Linked DNA regions of Homo sapiens: regions 2, 3, 4 and 5 are each linked to region 1. The links are contacts of gene promoters, found by promoter capture Hi-C in blood cells and fetal thymus (Javierre and others, 2016). All regions are on one chromosome and are shown on one strand. The core of a region is centred on a gene start or on the middle of the fragment in contact, and the rest is flanking DNA. Distances in the headings are between cores, read along the strand shown.

Region 1 (3,561 bases), core at 446-2,945:
GCCTATTTCAAGCATTGCATTAATTAACATCCCCCTACCAAGCAGGGATCCTAACTAACTGCCTGACACCTTTCACCCCCAGTTGTTCATTAATTGAATTCATAGAACCCAAGAGGTGCTCAGTTGATGTCTGTGAAATGAATAAATACCCTCACCCCTTATCCAGCCCCTCCTGGGCCTTCCTCTTCTTTGAATGCTCAAAGGGATGAGAACCCTGGAATGGAAAAGCCCGTTTGGAGCCCTGAAGTGGAATGCAGGGAGTAAGGAAGGCAGGCTGACCTTGCTTCTTCAGTTCCGACTTCCCTGACTCAAGGAGGCCACTGACAAATTGGGGGCAGGTGCCATTAAGGAGCCACTGCACTGTTTCCCTCGTCCACTTGTCCTGGTTGAGCACTTGAATGGCCAAGTTTACCCAAAGTGGGGCCTCTTGGGTTGGCTCCCAAGAAGTTCCTTGGAAACTCAGGATATCTTTTCCTTGAAATGCTACATGGAAGAAGTTATTTGAGGCGTTCCCAGGGTGCACCTCACAGCCAGCGGACACCTGGAGCTCCAAGGGATCTGTGGAGAGGAATGGAGAAAGATCAAAGAAGGGTTTAAAAGACTGGGAGAGATGAAAGAGAAGAAATTGATGTGCAGGTTATAATGGGGACCCAGACTTCAGGGAAAGGAAAGTAAGTGACCTGGAGTAGGCAGGAACGAGGGACACTTTGAGGAGTCAAAGCCTGGGACATCTCCAGGTAGAAGGGAAATCAGAAGAGGGTGGACAGAGCAGAGAATCTCATCAGGTGGTGCCACAGTCTCCCAGTTGAGTTTCTGTGGCCATTCTCTCCCCTTGGGTACCGGCCCAGGATCCTATCCCTCAGCTCACAGGATAAGCGTAGCATTTTGGCGAATTCCTTCACGTCCCTGGTGAAGCTGCTTCGATAAACCCGAAATATATGCTGCAGCGTCTCCCACTGCTGGTCGCTGAACGTGCCCTGGGACCAAGGCTTCAGAGAGCGGACGGTGTCCGAGTCGTTGCTCCAGCTGTGCGTCTGCAGCTCCCCCAGCCACGCCAAGCCGTCGGTGCGCGTCCAGCTGCTATTGGCGAAGGACGAGATCTGGAGGCAGCGGAGGGGGAAAAGCCTTTGCGGGACTGGGAGAGAATGAAGATTGGAGGCGTGTAGCAAGTGGCCGGGAGAGCAGCCAGCATAAAGAGAAGGAAGAAAGAAACAAGAGGAGATGAGCTTCAGGAGGCGGCTGATGCCAGCGAACTCTGTGCCGCGCTGCCTCTCCCCGGAGCCAGGGAGCAGCGAGTTTTCTACCTAGATCGCGCCAGTGCGTCCCGGGTCTCACCAGTCCCCATCAGGCGTTGCCCTCCCCGTCCCTACCCAGCTCCCTCTCTCCGCCCTCCCGCGAGTGCACTCAAGCGCCCTCGTTCCACCCACCTTCAGCGCTTCCCCAAGCCTGGAGGAGCGCCCAGAGCAGCAGAAACAGCAGGCACCCCATATCGCCCGGCGTGGGGACCTCGCGGAGCGCCGCTGCGCGCCGCCCTCTGACCTGCGCACTCTTCTCCCCCGCCGCTCAGCTCACGTCCCTTTCCGCTGGGTGCCAGCCAATTCCCAAGCCCAGACCCCGGCAGCCCTCCTCGCTGGGCTTGCCGGCGGTTTGCTGCTTCTGCCGAAGGGCGCCCTCGCCCTTAGCTGTGCGAGCTGCAAAGAGGTCGGGGTCCCAGGAATCCTGGCGCCGCCGCTCACTTCAGTAGGTTTCACAACCGGCGTGTCTCAATTTCCTGTTTCAAAGGAGACTTTGGGTCAACGTGTGGGACGCTTTACAACCATTATTTATGTTTTGGAAGCAGGACATAAGGTTGTGTCTGTGTTACAATTCCAACCATGGTAAAAATGCAAAGGGAAAAAAGGATCAAAGTCCTTGCTTTAGCAGTACATGTCTCTAGGTGGAAAGACTATGAGTGATCTTAATTTGCTTTACATCTTTATGTTTTCCAAAATTTCTCAAGTGCAAGTACCACATTTACAATAAAGTAAACGCATGAAAATTAATTTCCTCAGTTGCACATTGAGAGAACTGGATTAGGTTGGCTACAATTCTTTACAACTGTCATATCCCAGGATTCCTCCACCTCAGTGTTCCCTAGCCTCTCTTTCCTCCTGTCATGGTCCTTGCTCTCCCCTCCCCGGCCTCTGCTCTGTCTTCCCTGTCTCCTTTTTGGGGACGCGCCCCCAGACTCTCTTCCTCCTCTCCGCCCTAGGCTCTGCCGGCATACCTTCTCCTCTGGCTCCTGACTCATTCACTTTCCAAATATGCGCCTCTGTCTTAAACAGTAAGTGTAAGATGACAGTGTGTACCTGGACAGCCAACTCGCCACTTCTCACACTGAAAATAAGAAAAAGTGACCAAAAATCGTGGTTCTAAGCCTTAGCTCACCTGGAGGAAAAGACTCCTCTTTGGCAACTCAGAACCTGGGCTGCAGCCTGACACCTCCCTCTCCCTCACTCTTTTTATCCAATCTATCTCCAACTCATCTCTATTTCACTTCTTTTTGAATACCTCTTGAATAAATTCCTTTTTCTATATTTCCACCGTCACCATCACCCTAACCTTTTGACTGATCTCCTGAAGTAGCATTCTTGGGTAGAAAACAAAATCATTAGCACGGCCTGCAAGATTATGCGCCCTCTAGCCCTGGTGTCTACCTTTTGACATCACCTCACACCCCAGCATCATTTGCTCTGTACTGTAGCCTGGCTGTTAGCTTTCAGTTCCTCCACTATGCAAAACCTCTTCCTGACTAAGGTCTCTGCACAAAGTTCCCTCTACATGAAAGCTCTTGACCTTCTCCTCACCTCACCCCCTCCCAATGCCTAGTTATTTCCACTAAGGTATCAGTTCCAAGGTCACTTTCTCAGGGAAGTCTTTCCAGATCTGCCAGACTGTGTGACCCTAGGCAGGAGAAGTAGGGCAGTCCCAACCTCCACTGCTTGTACACTAACTGGCTTTGAGAAGCCATCCTCTCAGCATGTAGCAGAGTTTATAATTATAGAAATGGCCATATGTCTGTCTCCCTCTGTGTCCTCTTCTAAATCAGCTGGAGAGGTGCCAGAAGGCAAGGATCATGTCTCCATAATCTGATTCCTCCCATTCTGCTAACGTTAATGTTTCCCTTCTCCCATATCCTGTTGCAGCAAGAGTCCTAGAGAAAATAGGCTACTGCACCACACTCTAGGCTGGGATCTTGTAGACAGCCCTAACCCAGCCTATCTAATTATGTGTAATTTGCCCAAAAAAGCTTAAAATAACATAGTAACGTGTTCTTGTAACAAATAAGGTGTTAAATTATTAAATTTGGATACAAAATTGCCTAAATAATGGATAGGAGGGAAGCTATGAGAAATAAAAAGAAAAATAATTATATGACTCATGGGGCAATATTTTTAACTTTACTTTCTTCAAATTTCCAAGCTCCCTTTAAAAACTTGAACAGTTCTGTTTAGTTTTTGTGTATCTTAAAAATTTTAAGTGCTAACATTCTTGCACACTTAAAGACAAGAAGCTGGTTTG
Region 2 (3,561 bases), core at 315-2,814, 380 kb before region 1:
AGCAATCTCCTTGAGTTATTACTTCCCCTTAGTACAATTTCCCTTGAGAAATAAGCTTGTAGGCTCTAGCTTGCTGTCACACTTTCTTTTATTCCCTCATTCAACAGATACTGAGTAAAGGTGCTGTGGGCTTAGGAGTTTATTGTTGTTTCTAAGGGATGTAAAGGAAGAGCATGTCCTGGACAAGAAAACAAGAATCAAAATGCCAAGCAGTTCTGAAATCACTCAGAAAGTATTTATCAAATACCCACTGTAGTTAAGATTGCTAGGTAATTGAGTACTCAGGTCTGTTAACTTTTCCTATAAGGTGAGAGAAAAAACAGCAAAGTGAAGAGGAAAAATGTTATAATAATTAATATGCCACTAAGCTCTTCAGTGGTTATAACCTGTGAGAGTATGTTGGTGGTTTGTTGCAGCTATCTTTCAAACCTCTTGTTCTTCCTGTGATTTATTTTAGGCACTCAAGTGGACAGAGAGCCATGAGAAATTTGAGTGGAGGCCATGTCGAGGAGTTTGTCTTGGTGGGTTTCCCTACCACGCCTCCCCTCCAGCTGCTCCTCTTTGTCCTTTTTTTTGCAATTTACCTTCTGACATTGTTGGAGAATGCACTTATTGTCTTCACAATATGGCTTGCTCCAAGCCTTCATCGTCCCATGTACTTTTTCCTTGGCCATCTCTCTTTCCTGGAGCTATGGTACATCAATGTCACCATTCCTCGGCTCTTGGCAGCCTTTCTTACCCAGGATGGTAGAGTCTCCTACGTAGGTTGCATGACCCAACTGTACTTCTTTATTGCCTTAGCCTGTACTGAATGTGTGCTGTTGGCAGTTATGGCCTATGATCGCTACCTGGCCATCTGTGGACCCCTCCTTTACCCTAGTCTCATGCCTTCCAGTCTGGCCACTCGCCTTGCTGCTGCCTCTTGGGGCAGTGGCTTCTTCAGCTCCATGATGAAGCTTCTTTTTATTTCCCAATTGTCCTACTGTGGACCCAACATTATCAACCACTTTTTCTGTGATATTTCCCCACTACTCAACCTCACCTGCTCTGACAAGGAGCAAGCAGAGCTAGTAGACTTCCTTCTGGCCCTGGTGATGATTCTACTCCCTCTATTGGCTGTGGTTTCATCATACACTGCCATCATTGCAGCCATCCTGAGGATCCCTACGTCCAGGGGACGCCACAAAGCCTTTTCCACTTGTGCCGCTCATCTGGCAGTGGTTGTTATCTACTACTCCTCCACTCTCTTCACCTATGCACGGCCCCGGGCCATGTACACCTTCAACCACAACAAGATTATCTCTGTGCTCTACACTATCATTGTACCATTCTTCAACCCAGCCATCTACTGCCTGAGGAACAAGGAGGTGAAGGAGGCCTTCAGGAAGACAGTGATGGGCAGATGTCACTATCCTAGGGATGTTCAGGACTGATATACAACAGGTCTTGGGAGAGGTGAAAATAGCAGAATCTTAATAGGGCCTCCTCAAGGAATCAGAATAGGCTTTAAGGGAACATAAATATAATTTGCCAACATTTTCTCTAAATATTGTCTGGGACCTTCTGATACAAATGAAACTTTATGAATCATTTATTTTTTACAGGGGTTTTCAAACTAAGGTTGGACTAGCTACAGAAGAATCACCTGGGAATTTGTTAAAATACAGATTCCCCCAAAAAAATATGTGGAGAGTCTTACTGAGTATGTGTGGAATGTAACCCTGCCGTGAATAATATTCAAAACTTCCTGGGAATTCCTATTTCATAGACAGTTTGGGATTCCCTAGTCTAGACCAAGCCCATTATTTCGTAAGTGAGAAAATATAATATGAGAAAACAAGGGAACTTACTGGTGGACATGCCAAGAAAAAAATTTGGTAGACTTCAGTGTAACAATTTCAAAGATCCAGATTCTCAAATCCCACTTTCATAAGAAACTACACAAGTAGGTTATACCCCAAGACCTAATTTCATATCATCTTATCTACAAAACTCATATTCACTGAAAGTCAAAGCAGAGAGAGATGCAGTGCTGATATTCAGCCATATATTCTTGACTCAATATGGCTAACTATCCTCTCCATCTCCCTTCTTTGAATCTCAGGGGCATGTAAAGCTGGTTGACCTAACAAATATTGACCAGGTAGTAGGTAAAATGTTCTAGAAAGCTTATATACAGATCTTCTCCTTCGCTATGGCCAGCACCTGTTTTAAGTAATTAGTGCCAGGGCTATACCGATAGTGAAATATTTTAAATTGTGTTCCTAGTCAAAGGATTGTAAGAACAGAAAATGCCTTCATAAGAAAGAAGATTGAAGAGCCATAGATAGGATGCAGATATCTCTATGGCAATTGGGATGTCTCAGGTTCATAGCCTGAATCATAGGTATTCTAGCAAGTTCCTTTGATTTTTGGAAAGTTACTTGAATTGTTCAGAGAAATTTTTCTTATCTTGAATCTAGGCTCATTTACACAAATTTCTGCATATTGAACCAAATTCAATGATTATTTAGATGTGGGATATGTGAAACAAAATAAATATGCAATAACAATAAATATGCATATTGGAACAAATTCCAGTAAACACGGATTGTTGGTCAGTGCACATTTGCCTATTCCGAGACAGATTTTGAGGGAGAAAAAGACATGTGTCCATCAATGCAAGCTACTTTATCAACAATCATTTTAGATTTTCCAGTATTAAAAACAAAATAACAATAAAAGATCTGATACTTAAAACAGTTTAAGTTGTTTTGTTTTCATAAAATTTCTAAATAGCCTTAGAAACAGCTCTGAACATAGCTCAATTTACATTACATTCTCCTCTCCTTTCATAGAATTATGAGAGACATGGAGTTCAGAATTCAGACCCTAGAACGAGCAAATTTCAATTTGATCCTGGCTTTACTAATAACAAGTTATGTGATCATAGGCAAGAAACTTTACATCTCTGCTCTTAGTTTCTCTTTGATAATAAAAATAATACCCTTTCCATCATATGGGCTTGTTGTGAATATTAAATAAATAACACATATGCGGGCAAAGGGTTAGCATTTTTTTTCTCTTTCCTTTTGGATAAATTTGATCTTGGATTAATTTCTAGTTCTGGTTCTCTAGAAACCTAATAAACATTACTACACAAAATTACTTATGGCACAAATTATCTCTGAGCAGCAAATGACCTCTGGACTGGGAGGATGATGAATGTATTAAGGATATCTAGTGGGAAATAATAGCTTCAAGCTACTTTTGTAACTTGGCATGTCTTTTGAGGGAATTCTAGAAGCTATGGATGCCCATGAAATTGTTACAAGTGATATAGGCTCTTACAGGGCTTGAAAATTCCAAGTTAAGGTGGACTCTGCACCCCTTGATGAAAATCTTATGTCCACCTACCTGAGCTAAGACTTTAAATGACAGAGTCTATTCCTTCAACTGCTTTCAGGACTTCCTTTCTGTAAGAGAAACTCCTAAAACTGCCCTTCTAGAATGTTGGATTTGCTATCCTGCTTCCCTGAGTTAATTTTATGCCAGGTGAGGTCTTTTATAGTGTGTCAGTTT
Region 3 (3,561 bases), core at 485-2,984, 340 kb before region 1:
TGTGTATTCATTGCCAAATTAGAATAGATATAGTTATTTTCAATATTTCTGTGTTTTAAGCTTTTATAATAGAATTTAAAATGATTTACACAGTGCCATTACAGTATTAGATTATTCCAGATTTGACTATTTACTTTTACTAGTGGCTTTTTTAACTATTAACTTCTTAAAAATGTTTCATGTTATCTATTTCTTTATTTTAGAGATGTGATGTCGCTATGTTACACAGGCTGGTCTTACACTCCTGAGGTCAAATGATCCTCCCACCTTGGCTTCCCTAAGTGATGGGATTACAGGCATGAGCCACGGCACCTGGCTTTAACATCTTTTTGTTACAACTTGAAGAACTCTAGTATTTTTTTTTTTTTTTTTTTTTTTTTTTACATTTTACTTTAAGTTCCGGGATACAAGTGCAGAATGTGTAGGTTTGTTACATAAGTATATGTGTGCCATGGTGGTTTGCTGCACCTACCAACCCGTCATCTAAATTTTAAGCCCTGCATGCATTAGCTATTTGTCCTAATGCTCTCCCTCCCTCCCCTTGCCCCCCAACCCCACACGGGCCGTGGTGTGTGTTGTTCCCCTCCCTGTGTCCATGTATCCTCATTGTTCAACTCCTACTTATGAGTGAGAACATGCAATGTTTGGTTTTCCATTCCTGTGTTACCTTTGTCTGAGTATGTCTTTATTTCTGCTTCATTTCTGAGAGAGATTTTTTACGTATAGTATTCTTGGGCAGTTTTTATTTTTTTCTTTCTGCTCTTTGGCTATATCATCCCACACCATCCGGGCATATAAAATTTTTTTTTTTAGGTTTTGTTTTGTTTTTGCCAAGTCTGCTGATATCCTTAAAGGGGTTCCCTTTTAGGTGACAAGTTTCTTTTTACTGCTGCTTTCAAAAGTCTCTTTTTGTGTTTGACTTATAATAAGTTGATTATAATGTGCTTCAGAGTGTTACTGTTGGGGTTGATATTGTTTGGACATTTTGATTTCCATGAAACTGTATTGAGTCTATGTCTCTCCCATGATTTTGGAAGTTTTCAGCCAGTATTTCTTTAAATAAGCTTTATGCCTCTTTATTTGCTTCTTTTTCCTTCTGAGACACCGGTAGTTTATTATTGTTTTTCTAATTTCAATTCATTTTCTATGTGCATTTCCTTGCATTTCTTCAAGATCCTTAAGATGGTTATTTTGAATTCTTTCTCAGGCAATTCCTAGATCTCTATTTCTTTGTGATTTACTACTGAAGCTTTACTAGTTTCTTTTGGTGGTGTCACATTTGCCTAATTCTTCATTATCTGTATAGATTGCATTGATGTCTGCGCATTGATGTCTGAATAAACATCTTTTCTGGCATTTAAACACTGCTTTTGGCAGATAAAAGCTTTCTCCTGTTGAGCCTCTATGCTGGTGAGATTGCCCCCAGGATCCTAGTAAAGTGGGTTTCGAGCTAGATCATGTGGCTGCCTCTTCATCTACAATGGGATCTGTGCTTAATAGACCTGTTACCAGGGCCTCCAGTGGGTATGGATTCTGTCTGGTTCCCCCCGGGTGGACTGAATTACCTCCAGTACATTGGGCAGTAGGGTTGGTGCTAGAATGAGGATCCATTTCAGAGTCCACAGATGGTAGGCCTGTTACTAGGTTTGTGGATGGGTATGGTTTCCTCCAGGTCTTTGGGAGAGCTCCCATTAAGTGACTGGGTAGGTCCCTTTGCAGGCAGTACTTGTCCTGGCCTACAGTTGAGAGGAGATGAATATAAGTCACAGGGCTGCAGTAAAGACAAAGATCTGCAGGCCTGCCTCTGAGGTCAAGGTTTGGTGTATCCCCCATTTGGTCCCTGGTCAGGCAAAACTGCCCTCAGACCACACCTGAGAGGGGATGAATCCAAGTTACAAGGCTGTGTCAGGATCCTCTGTGAGACTGATGGCAGCAGGTCTGCCTCTGAGGGTCATAGACAAGCTCGTCCTTCTCTTGGTTCTTGAATGGACAAGCCTACTCTCAGACCACAGCTATTAATGCCTGGAGTTGAGTTTCAGAGCCATTTCAAGTTCCACACCTGGGACCGAGGTCAACAAGCTTGTTTTCTGAAGCACTAGTATATGTGACTCCTCCTGGGCTCCTTGACTGATGGCAAAATAAGGCTGTATCCAAGTCCACAATAAAACAAGGCCATTGCTAAGTCTAGAGCTGAGACCACTGTTGGCAGGTCTGCCCCCTCAAAATGGCTTTCCTACATCTTGATCTTCACTAGGGTTTCACAATCTCCTATCTAAATCTCAAGGCTCCCACAAAGAGGTATTTTCCCATTGATGGCTGTGAACTTATTGCTGCTGTCAAGGAATGTAAGCAGTGGGCTTTCTGTTTCACCATCTTTCTCTCCTTTTGTCTCTCACTATTTTTAAAATTTTCTTTTTATCATTAGTTTTTAATAATTGAATTCTTATATTCTTATATGTTCTAGCATAATTTTGGTTTTTATTCTGCTTGAAATTTCTGACATTTTTGGGTTTGGGGGTTTATAAGGGATCTCAATTACATGAATATTTGACAGCTTGGCACTTTACCGTAGTCATCAAGCCTCTGTTTTTGTTTTGTTGTTGTTGTCGTTATTTGGGGTTTTTGAAGTTTTGCTATAATTACAGGTTGTTTTGTTGGCTATGTGTTTAAGTTAATTGACCTTTTCTTTGGCAGTGTCTGCAGCTAATCCTGCTTAATGTATTTTTAAAATTCAGATAATATTTTTTATTTCTATTAATTATACTTGATGGCTGTTGGGAATATAAACTCTTCTTTGTGTGAACTCTAGGACTTGTTTAGTCTATTGCTTCCAGTAGTTGTTCATCTTCTACAAGAAGTTTACTCTAACAAATGTACGAATTAGCACTCTTCCAAAGATTTGAGGAGATCCCTTTGCAGCTATTAGACCTCCCTATGTGTGTGCTAATCCCTTCTCTTTAGTTATCTGTCTTGAAATGGCCCCTTTGTCTTCTCTATACTCTAATCTTTATCTAATCTAGTCTCCTTAATACTCTATGTAATCTAGTCTTCTCTATAATCTTTATCTAATCTAATCCTTAATTCAGTAAGACTACTTGATATATTTTGGTGTCCTCTGCTGCCTCTCTCTCTTTTTCTCTCTCTTTCTATATATAAACACATAAATATACATACATGTATATACACATATAGAGCTTGTATTATTCCATCAGTTATGTCTCAGTATTATCCAGTATTATCTTGGTGTTATTATATTTTTAAATATAAGAAGCATATAAATTTCTATTTAAAATACTTTAACATATTTTTTCTCACTCCATCATGGTCACACAATGTCCAGTACTAAAGTCCTATGGAATTACTTATGTTCAACTGGATAATACTGAGACATAAGTGTTGGAATAATTCCAGCTGAAGTTAATCATGGGCTGTTTTTTCTCTTTCACTCTCTTAACTCCCATTTCCATCTTCAGTTTTTCTTTAGAACTAAAATTAGGATTGTCTAGAGTCTGTTACAGGATCCACATTTCTTTGCTTTGTACTCTTCAAATACTTTTTAAG
Region 4 (3,561 bases), core at 544-3,043, 320 kb before region 1:
GATAACACAAGAAATTGGTACAGAGGAGTGGGGTATTACAATAAAGATATCTGAAAGTGTAGAAGCAGCTTTGGAACTGGGTAATGGGCATAGAATGGAAGAGTTTGAGGGCTCAAAAGAAGACGGAAGTTGAGGTTTAGTTTAGAACTTCTTAGAGACTGGTAAAATGGTTGTAACCCAAATGCTGACGTGTGATATAGACAGTGAAGTCCAGACTGAGGAGGCCTCAGATGGAAATGAGGAACATACTGGGAACTGAAGTAAAGGTCACTTTTGATATGCCTTAGCAAAGAACTTGGCTGCCTTCTGTTCATGCCCTAGGGATCTGCGGAAGTTAAAGTTTTGAAATGATAATTTAGGGTATCTGATGAAGGAAATTTCTAAGCAGCCAAGCATTCAAGATGTGGCCTGGCTGCTTCTAACAACCTAACTCAGATGTGGGCACAAAGGAATACCTTAAAGCTGAAACTTATATTTAAAAGGAAAGTAGAGAATAAAAGTTTGAGAAATCTGCAGCCTGGCAATGTGGCAAAGGAAGAAAAAGCTCTTGAGGGGAGAAGAATTCAAGCAGGTTGTGGAACAACCACTTTACTAAAGAAATTTGCATACTTAAGTGGGTCAGGCGTGGTGGCTCACGCCTGTAATCCCAGCACTTTGGGAGGCTGAGGTGGACGGATCACAAGGTCAGTAGATCGAGACTGTCCTGGCTAACATGGTGAAACCCCATCTCTACTAAAAATACAAAAAAAAAATTAGCTGGGTGCGGTGGTGGGCGCCTGTAGTCCCAGCTACTCTGGCTGAGGCGGGAGAATGGCGTGAACCTGGGAGGCATAGCTTGCAGTGAGCCGAGATCATGCCACTGCACTCCAGCCTGGGTGACAGAGCAAGACTCCATCTCAAAAAAAAAAAAAAAAAAAGAAAAAAAAAGAAATTTGCATACCTATGAAGGAGCCAAGTGCTGATAGTCAAGACAATGGGGGAAAAGCCTTGAAGGCATCTCAGAGACCTCTGTGGCAGCCCCTTCCATTAAAGGCCCAGAATCCCTACTGCCACACACACAGCTTCATGACACTGCTCCCTGCATCCTGCTGCTCCAGCTTCAACTGGGGCTCAAAGGGGCCCAGGTACTGCTCAACATGCTACTTTGGAGAGTTCAAGCCACTGTAAGCCTTGGCAATTTGCACATGATTTTAAGCCTGTAGGCACACAGAGTTCAGAGTGAATGAGAATTTGCACCATCTGCCTAGATTTCAGAGGACATATGGAAAAGCCTGAGTGCCCAGACAGAGGCCTGCTGCAGGGGTGGGGAACCCCACAGGGAACCTCTACTATGGCAATGCAGAGGGGAAATGTGGGTTTGCCCCCCGCCCCAGAGTTCCCACTGGGGCACTGCCTAGTGGAGCTGTGAGAAGGGGACCGCCATCCTCCAGACCCCAGAAAGGAAGATCCACTGTCAGCTTGCCCTCTGCACCTGGAAAAGCCAAGAACACTCAACACCAACCCGTGGAAACAGCCATGGGTATTCAACCCTGCAAAGCCATAGGGATACAGCTGCCCTAAGCCTTGAGAGCCATGACTGACACCTCTCTGAGGAGCTTGCAGCAGTGTGACCTGGATGTAGAATATGGAGTCAAAGGATATTATTTTGGAGCTTTAAGATTTAATGACTGCCCTCCTGGCTTTAGGACTTGCTTGGGGCCTATAGCCCCTATTTTTTTGGCCAATTTCTTTCTTTTAGGATAGCAACGTTTACCCAATACCTGTATCCCTATTGTATCTTGGAAGTAAATAACTTGGTTTTGATTTTATAGGTTCATGAATGAAAGGGACTTTCCTTGTCAAAGATGAGACTCTGGACTTCGGACTTGTGAGTTAACACTGGAACAAGTTAAAACTTTGGAGGACTCTTAGGAAGGCATAAATATATTTTGCAATGTGAGAAGGACATAGATTTGGGAGGAGCCGGAGAAATATTGATATAGTTTGGATATTTGTCCCCACACAAATCTTACGTTGAATTGTAATCACCAGTGCTGAAGGTGGGAGGTGTTTCGGTCATGGGGGTGAACTTCGCATGACTTGGTCTATTTTTATGATAGTGAGTAAGTTCTCACAAGATCTTGCCATTTCAAAATTTGCAGCACCTTCCCCCAACTCTCTCTCTCCTGTTCTGGTCATGTGATGTGCCCGCTCCTGCTTCACCTTCCACCATGATTGAAAGTTCCCTGAGCCTTCACCAGAAGCCAAGTGGATGCCAGCACCATGCTTCCTGTAAATTCTGCAAATCATGAGCCAACAAAACCACTTTTCTTTATAAATTACCCAATCTCAGGTATTTCTTTATAGCAATGCAAGAATGGCATAATATATGATTACAGTTACCAATACCTTTTGATCAGGGGGTGGATTCATGTTAAATGTTCTTATCACACACAAAAAAAGTCAGTGTTGACCTAGTTGAAAAACTAGCTTATTTGTGACTCATGCTATATTAAAAAACAACTACTGAATAAATCAAGAGTGCTATTGTTTTTTCTGAGTGAAATTGTAATTGACCTATGTAACCCTTGTTTCAAATGTCCTTGTTAGAATTTTCAGAAAAATTTTAGTGGAGTATATTTTATAAACATCTCCTGACATTAACATAATTCTAGGGCTCATAGGGATGAATAAATCTAAATTCTGTCAAAATTTTAAAAAGAAAGAAAATTAAGAATGTAATTGCCTTTTAGCTCCAAATCTACCTTTACTTGTCCTGATTGTGTTACTGGAATGTTTCTCCTTTACCAGCAGACATGATGTTAAGCTCTTCTGTAGAAGGCGTGAAGGGACACTGAAGTTAAAACGGAGTTCTCTTCCCATTTCTGGCTGCTTTCATCTGCCTGGACATGCTGTGTGTGTGAAGTCTAGTAACAAGTAGGACGCCCAGTAGTGCTACTTCCCAGGCAGTACCATCATCAAAGGTATTTTGCCAGAAGGTTGCAAACAGAAGCATCCTCCCATAGATGCCCCCCACCCACAGAGTACTTCAGAGAGTGGTTTTCCAGCAAGTTCTAAAGTATAGCTCTTCCTTATGGATGGCTTCCCATGAGGACTAAGAGGGCAGAATCCAGAAGGCATTACATTGATTTCAAGAAATGTTTATTAAGCTATACTTTTAGTATTAGTATAAAGATGAACAAATAGATTAATGGAACAAAACAGAACACTCAGAAATAGAAACACATATGTATAATTAATTTTCTACAAAGCCTCAAGGCAATTTAATGGTAGAAGAATACTCTTTCCAATAATAATGCATTTGGATAGAAAAGAATCTTGAAATTTTTTCACACCATTTACAAAAATTAACTAGAGATGAATCACATCCTGCTTGTAAGAACTAATATTATTAAAAAGAACATTAGATAGAACCTTAGTGAGCTTGAATTTTTCAGAAACTTATTAAGTATGACAGAAAACACTTGAACTATAAAAGTCAAAGTCAATAAGTTGGACTTTATCAAAACCAAAGGAAACTTCTGCTCTTCAAAAGACATGGTAGAAAATTAAAAGCAAGTT
Region 5 (3,561 bases), core at 337-2,836, 300 kb before region 1:
GGAAGAGTGACTACTTTGACAAATAAATTATAGTAAATGTAAGACTGTATCCGTTTATTAACCCTAGTCTCTAAAGTCTTGTAGCTGCTACTTATGGAGTGTTGAATCATCTACTTTTGTACCCTAGTAACCATGTTTTGAGGAAGCCCAAACAGCCCTTGGAGAATCTATATGGTAAAAAACCAAGGCTCCTGGCCAATAGCCCCAGCTGAGCAAACAACCAATAGCTAACACGAATAAAACAGGCACATAAGTGAGCAATCTTGAAAGTAAATCCTTCAGCCCCAATTGAATCATCCAACCTGCTGGGACAAAGAACAAATTCCAGCTGTCCCCACTGAGCCCTGCCAAAATTGCAGACTTGTGTGCAAAATAATTACAGCTCATTTAAGCAACTAAAGTTGTAGAGAGTTGATTATGCAGCAGTAAATAATGAGAACAGAATTTGGTATCTAAAGGCAGGGTGCTGTTATAATCAACATTTAAAACATTTGGCATTAATTTTGCAATTGGTGGTATAAATAATCCATAAGGACTTAAGGAGTCTCTTACTAAAAGGTGAAAGGATCATAAGGCAACTCTTGGTAAAGCTTTGAAGCACAGAGAGAAAAATATTTGAAGGACAGAGAGGAAACTGTTATCATACTTAGGTAAAACATGGATACTTATTATCCATTGCTCTAAAGTTTGGCAGCAGGACCACATGCTACAGCCTGGAAAATAGACTATTTAGTAATCTCATTATCTTCCTGGGTAAATTTCTAGGAAGACTATAGAAAATTCCAACCAATGATAAAATATGAAAAGAGAGTAGACAGCAGGATACTAGAGGAAGGGAATAGTAGAGAAAAGGGAAGGATAGGTGGAGATTTGCTAAAGGATACAAAATTACAGCTAGATAAAGGAATAAGTTACAGTGTTCTTTGCTACTGTAGGATGACTATAGTTAACAGTAATGTATAGATTCAAATTGCCAGAAGGAGGGTGTTGAACATTCCCAACATGAAGAAATGATAAATGTTTGAGATGATGATATGCTAATTACCTTGATCTGATCCCTATAACATTATTTATATCAGAATATTACTATGCACCTAAGGAATATGAACAATGACTATTTGTCAATTTAAAAGTACATAATTTTTTAAAGTTTCTTAAGTTTCTGAGAATTTAGAGGAAACAGAAAGAAACAAAACTTGTTGGGTTTGCAAATAAAGATGTTTCTCATGCACAGTCTCTCTCAACAAAGACTCTCAAGGTACAAAATGGCTTCAAGGAAGAAATCAAATCCAAGGTGCTATCAGGAAACCAATGCCTCAGGGTAAACCTCTTAAGAATGTAGCTGTAATACTTTTTGTTAGAACTCAGAAATATTTTAGGCTATACCCAACAAGATTTATAAATATCCTAAGGGCCTGACTCCTTAAAGTTAAGCAATAAGTCTTTTTAAGAATCTTAAGGGAATTGCCATACAGCAGTTATTAATACTGCTACCTCACAAGTGACCCATAATAAAGAAATGAATATGGATGTGACTTTTATCTAATGGAATTAATTTATAAACTGAAACATAAGAAACTCACCAAGTTTTAAAAAGGCATTCTATCAACATGTGCTAAAGGCTACAGAGCAAACAGAAATGAATAGACCTTTGGACCCTCAACTTCTTCCATGGAGGTATCAGACTAAGAAATGACATGTCTGCAAATTGTAGCTATGTCTTGCAGATAAAAAAGGATGATCAGAAAGTGGGGAAATGGCATCACAGGTTAGATCTAAGAGTCATGGAATTCATTCCCAGAAAATAGGACTGGCAACAGTGTCCAGATGAATTTCAGAATTTCTATGGACCAATGACTGTGATGTGTCTAATTTCCTCCTTTTTCACAAGGGAATGTCCATTGCTATTCCTATGCCCATCACATCATTGTCTTTTTGGGTGTCAGGAGCAGACAACCTGCTGGTATTATGCCTTAAAAGACTAGCAGCTTCCTCTTTCTGTTTCTTGGAATGTTTAGTCTTTGAAACCAGTCATGATGTTGTGAGAAAGTTTATAGAACCCCATGAAAAGGGCCACATGGAGAGATACTGACTCTCACAACCTATAGCCCTGACTCAGCTCCACTACAAATCAGCATCATTTTGCCAGCCGTGTAAATGAGCCAAATGGAAGTGGGTCCCTCAATTCTAGTTGAGCAGCTCAGTTGACATTGTATGGAGTTAAGACAAGCCAATCTTATAAGCCCTCTCCCATTTAAGAGATTAATGAGCAAAATAAATTATCATTGTCATTGTTATTTTTAATTACTGTTATGGGGGACATAAATATTGCTACACTTTCACATGTAGTTTCAGATGTTTTTCTTAGCTAGACCAAGAAGTCATTTATTCAATTAAAGTTAAGAGACATGTATTAGTTATCTCCTGAATGTCAGGGATATAAAAGACATTTAGGAGGAGTTAATGTATCGGTATAATAAATTACTTCCTTTCACGTTGTTGATTGTCCATTAGAGAAAATAAGATATGTACATAATCAGCTCAATATGTCAGAGCTCAGTAAGAAGTATAAGTAAAGCTTACAATGCTATGGTGTTTTGAAGAATGGAAATCAGGTAATACTTCATGAAACAGGTGAAAATAAAAAAAACTTTGATGGTAGACATTGGACAAAGAAGGAGATAATCTTTTCAAATAAGACCTTTTTTGATTCTTAGGCCGGTACAGGACCATTCTCCATAGGATCCCACTTTATAAGCTGTAAGTAAAGAAATGTGGTGCACAGAATGGCAAATTTATGTTTATCTTCTACTGCCTTTTTAATTAATGATGGCTATAGTATGATGATGGCAAACAAGGCCATTTTGTCACTGCAAATTATTTTCCTGTAGAAGTATTATTCTACTGTTTATTATTATAATATCTTTTAAACATAATTTTAACTCTTTCTTGTTTCTACTAATAAAAAAAGGAATTCAAGAGACCTATATGCCAGGATGGTAGGAAACTAGAGCCATATAGTAAGATAGAAAAAAATGTTTTGAATCACATTCATGTCGGCATGCTGCAGAAAATATTCTATACATTAGTGTTGGACACAAAAATCAGCTACTTTTCATGAAAGTTGATCAAGATGTTAAGTGTAGTTTATTTCTGAAACTTCCTGCTTACTTTTCATTTCTTTTCACAGTATAGAATTTAGTTTTCCTAATGTATACATATTCTGTATTTAAAAACCTCAAATGTTAGACTGCACAGTACCTTCTCCTAAATTTTTAACGAATGTGACATAAAATAGCAATACTCTAGTTAATTGAATATGCTATCTTGACCAGGATAGTTTCTCTGCCTACCTTGCGGTAAATTTTTCTGAAATTTGATATTAAAAAGGAAATTAAATCCATTAAAGGGATCTAGAAGATAGCAGCAGGGATGTCTATTAATCTATCCTGCTGTTATAATAAAATTATAAAACATGTAAACTCTGTGACATGATGATATAAATAACCTTTCAATCAGGTAAAAAAAAGTTACAACAAATTGTTAAAAGTAAAAAAGAAA

The links. The method cuts DNA at HindIII sites, captures the fragments that hold promoters and counts their contacts. A CHiCAGO score of 5 or more calls a contact.
Region 2: a contact is called between a fragment that was not itself captured here and the fragment with the promoter of CD1D in region 1, in 1 of 17 cell types (fetal thymus). The highest score is 5.1, in fetal thymus.
Region 3: a contact is called between a fragment that was not itself captured here and the fragment with the promoter of CD1D in region 1, in 1 of 17 cell types (fetal thymus). The highest score is 5.7, in fetal thymus.
Region 4: a fragment that was not itself captured here is called in contact with the fragment with the promoter of CD1D in region 1 in 5 of 17 cell types (fetal thymus, monocytes, M0 macrophages and 2 more); the score reaches 8.2 in fetal thymus.
Region 5: a fragment that was not itself captured here is called in contact with the fragment with the promoter of CD1D in region 1 in 6 of 17 cell types (fetal thymus, M1 macrophages, M0 macrophages and 3 more); the score reaches 11.8 in fetal thymus.

What each region holds. Positions count from the first base shown.
Region 1 is chr1:158,179,029-158,182,589 of GRCh38, reverse strand. CD1D (CD1d molecule) reads right to left here and starts at 1,695. Exons shown (of 6, transcript NM_001371762.2): 1 at 1,428-1,695; 2 at 869-1,135; 3 at 280-558. The coding sequence starts at 1,488. RefSeq lists an enhancer at 1,165-1,224 and a silencer at 2,637-2,686. The HindIII fragment of the contact is 7,344 bases long and covers 1-3,291 here.
Region 2 is chr1:158,560,523-158,564,083 of GRCh38, reverse strand. It overlaps OR6P1 (olfactory receptor family 6 subfamily P member 1), which reads left to right. Exons shown (of 3, transcript NM_001160325.2): 3 at 458-3,478. The coding sequence starts at 480. The coding sequence ends at 1,433. Among named protein-coding and RNA genes, the nearest start is that of OR6Y1, 7.9 kb to the right of the region's middle. The HindIII fragment of the contact is 1,212 bases long and covers 959-2,170 here.
Region 3 is chr1:158,519,626-158,523,186 of GRCh38, reverse strand. No RefSeq gene overlaps it. Among named protein-coding and RNA genes, the nearest start is that of OR6Y1, 33 kb to the left of the region's middle. The HindIII fragment of the contact is 695 bases long and covers 1,387-2,081 here.
Region 4 is chr1:158,499,258-158,502,818 of GRCh38, reverse strand. No RefSeq gene overlaps it. Among named protein-coding and RNA genes, the nearest start is that of OR10R2, 29 kb to the right of the region's middle. The HindIII fragment of the contact is 6,418 bases long and covers 1-3,561 here.
Region 5 is chr1:158,482,332-158,485,892 of GRCh38, reverse strand. All of the region lies in intron 2 of LOC107985213 (a long non-coding RNA gene), which reads left to right. Among named protein-coding and RNA genes, the nearest start is that of OR10R2, 12 kb to the right of the region's middle. The HindIII fragment of the contact is 1,988 bases long and covers 593-2,580 here.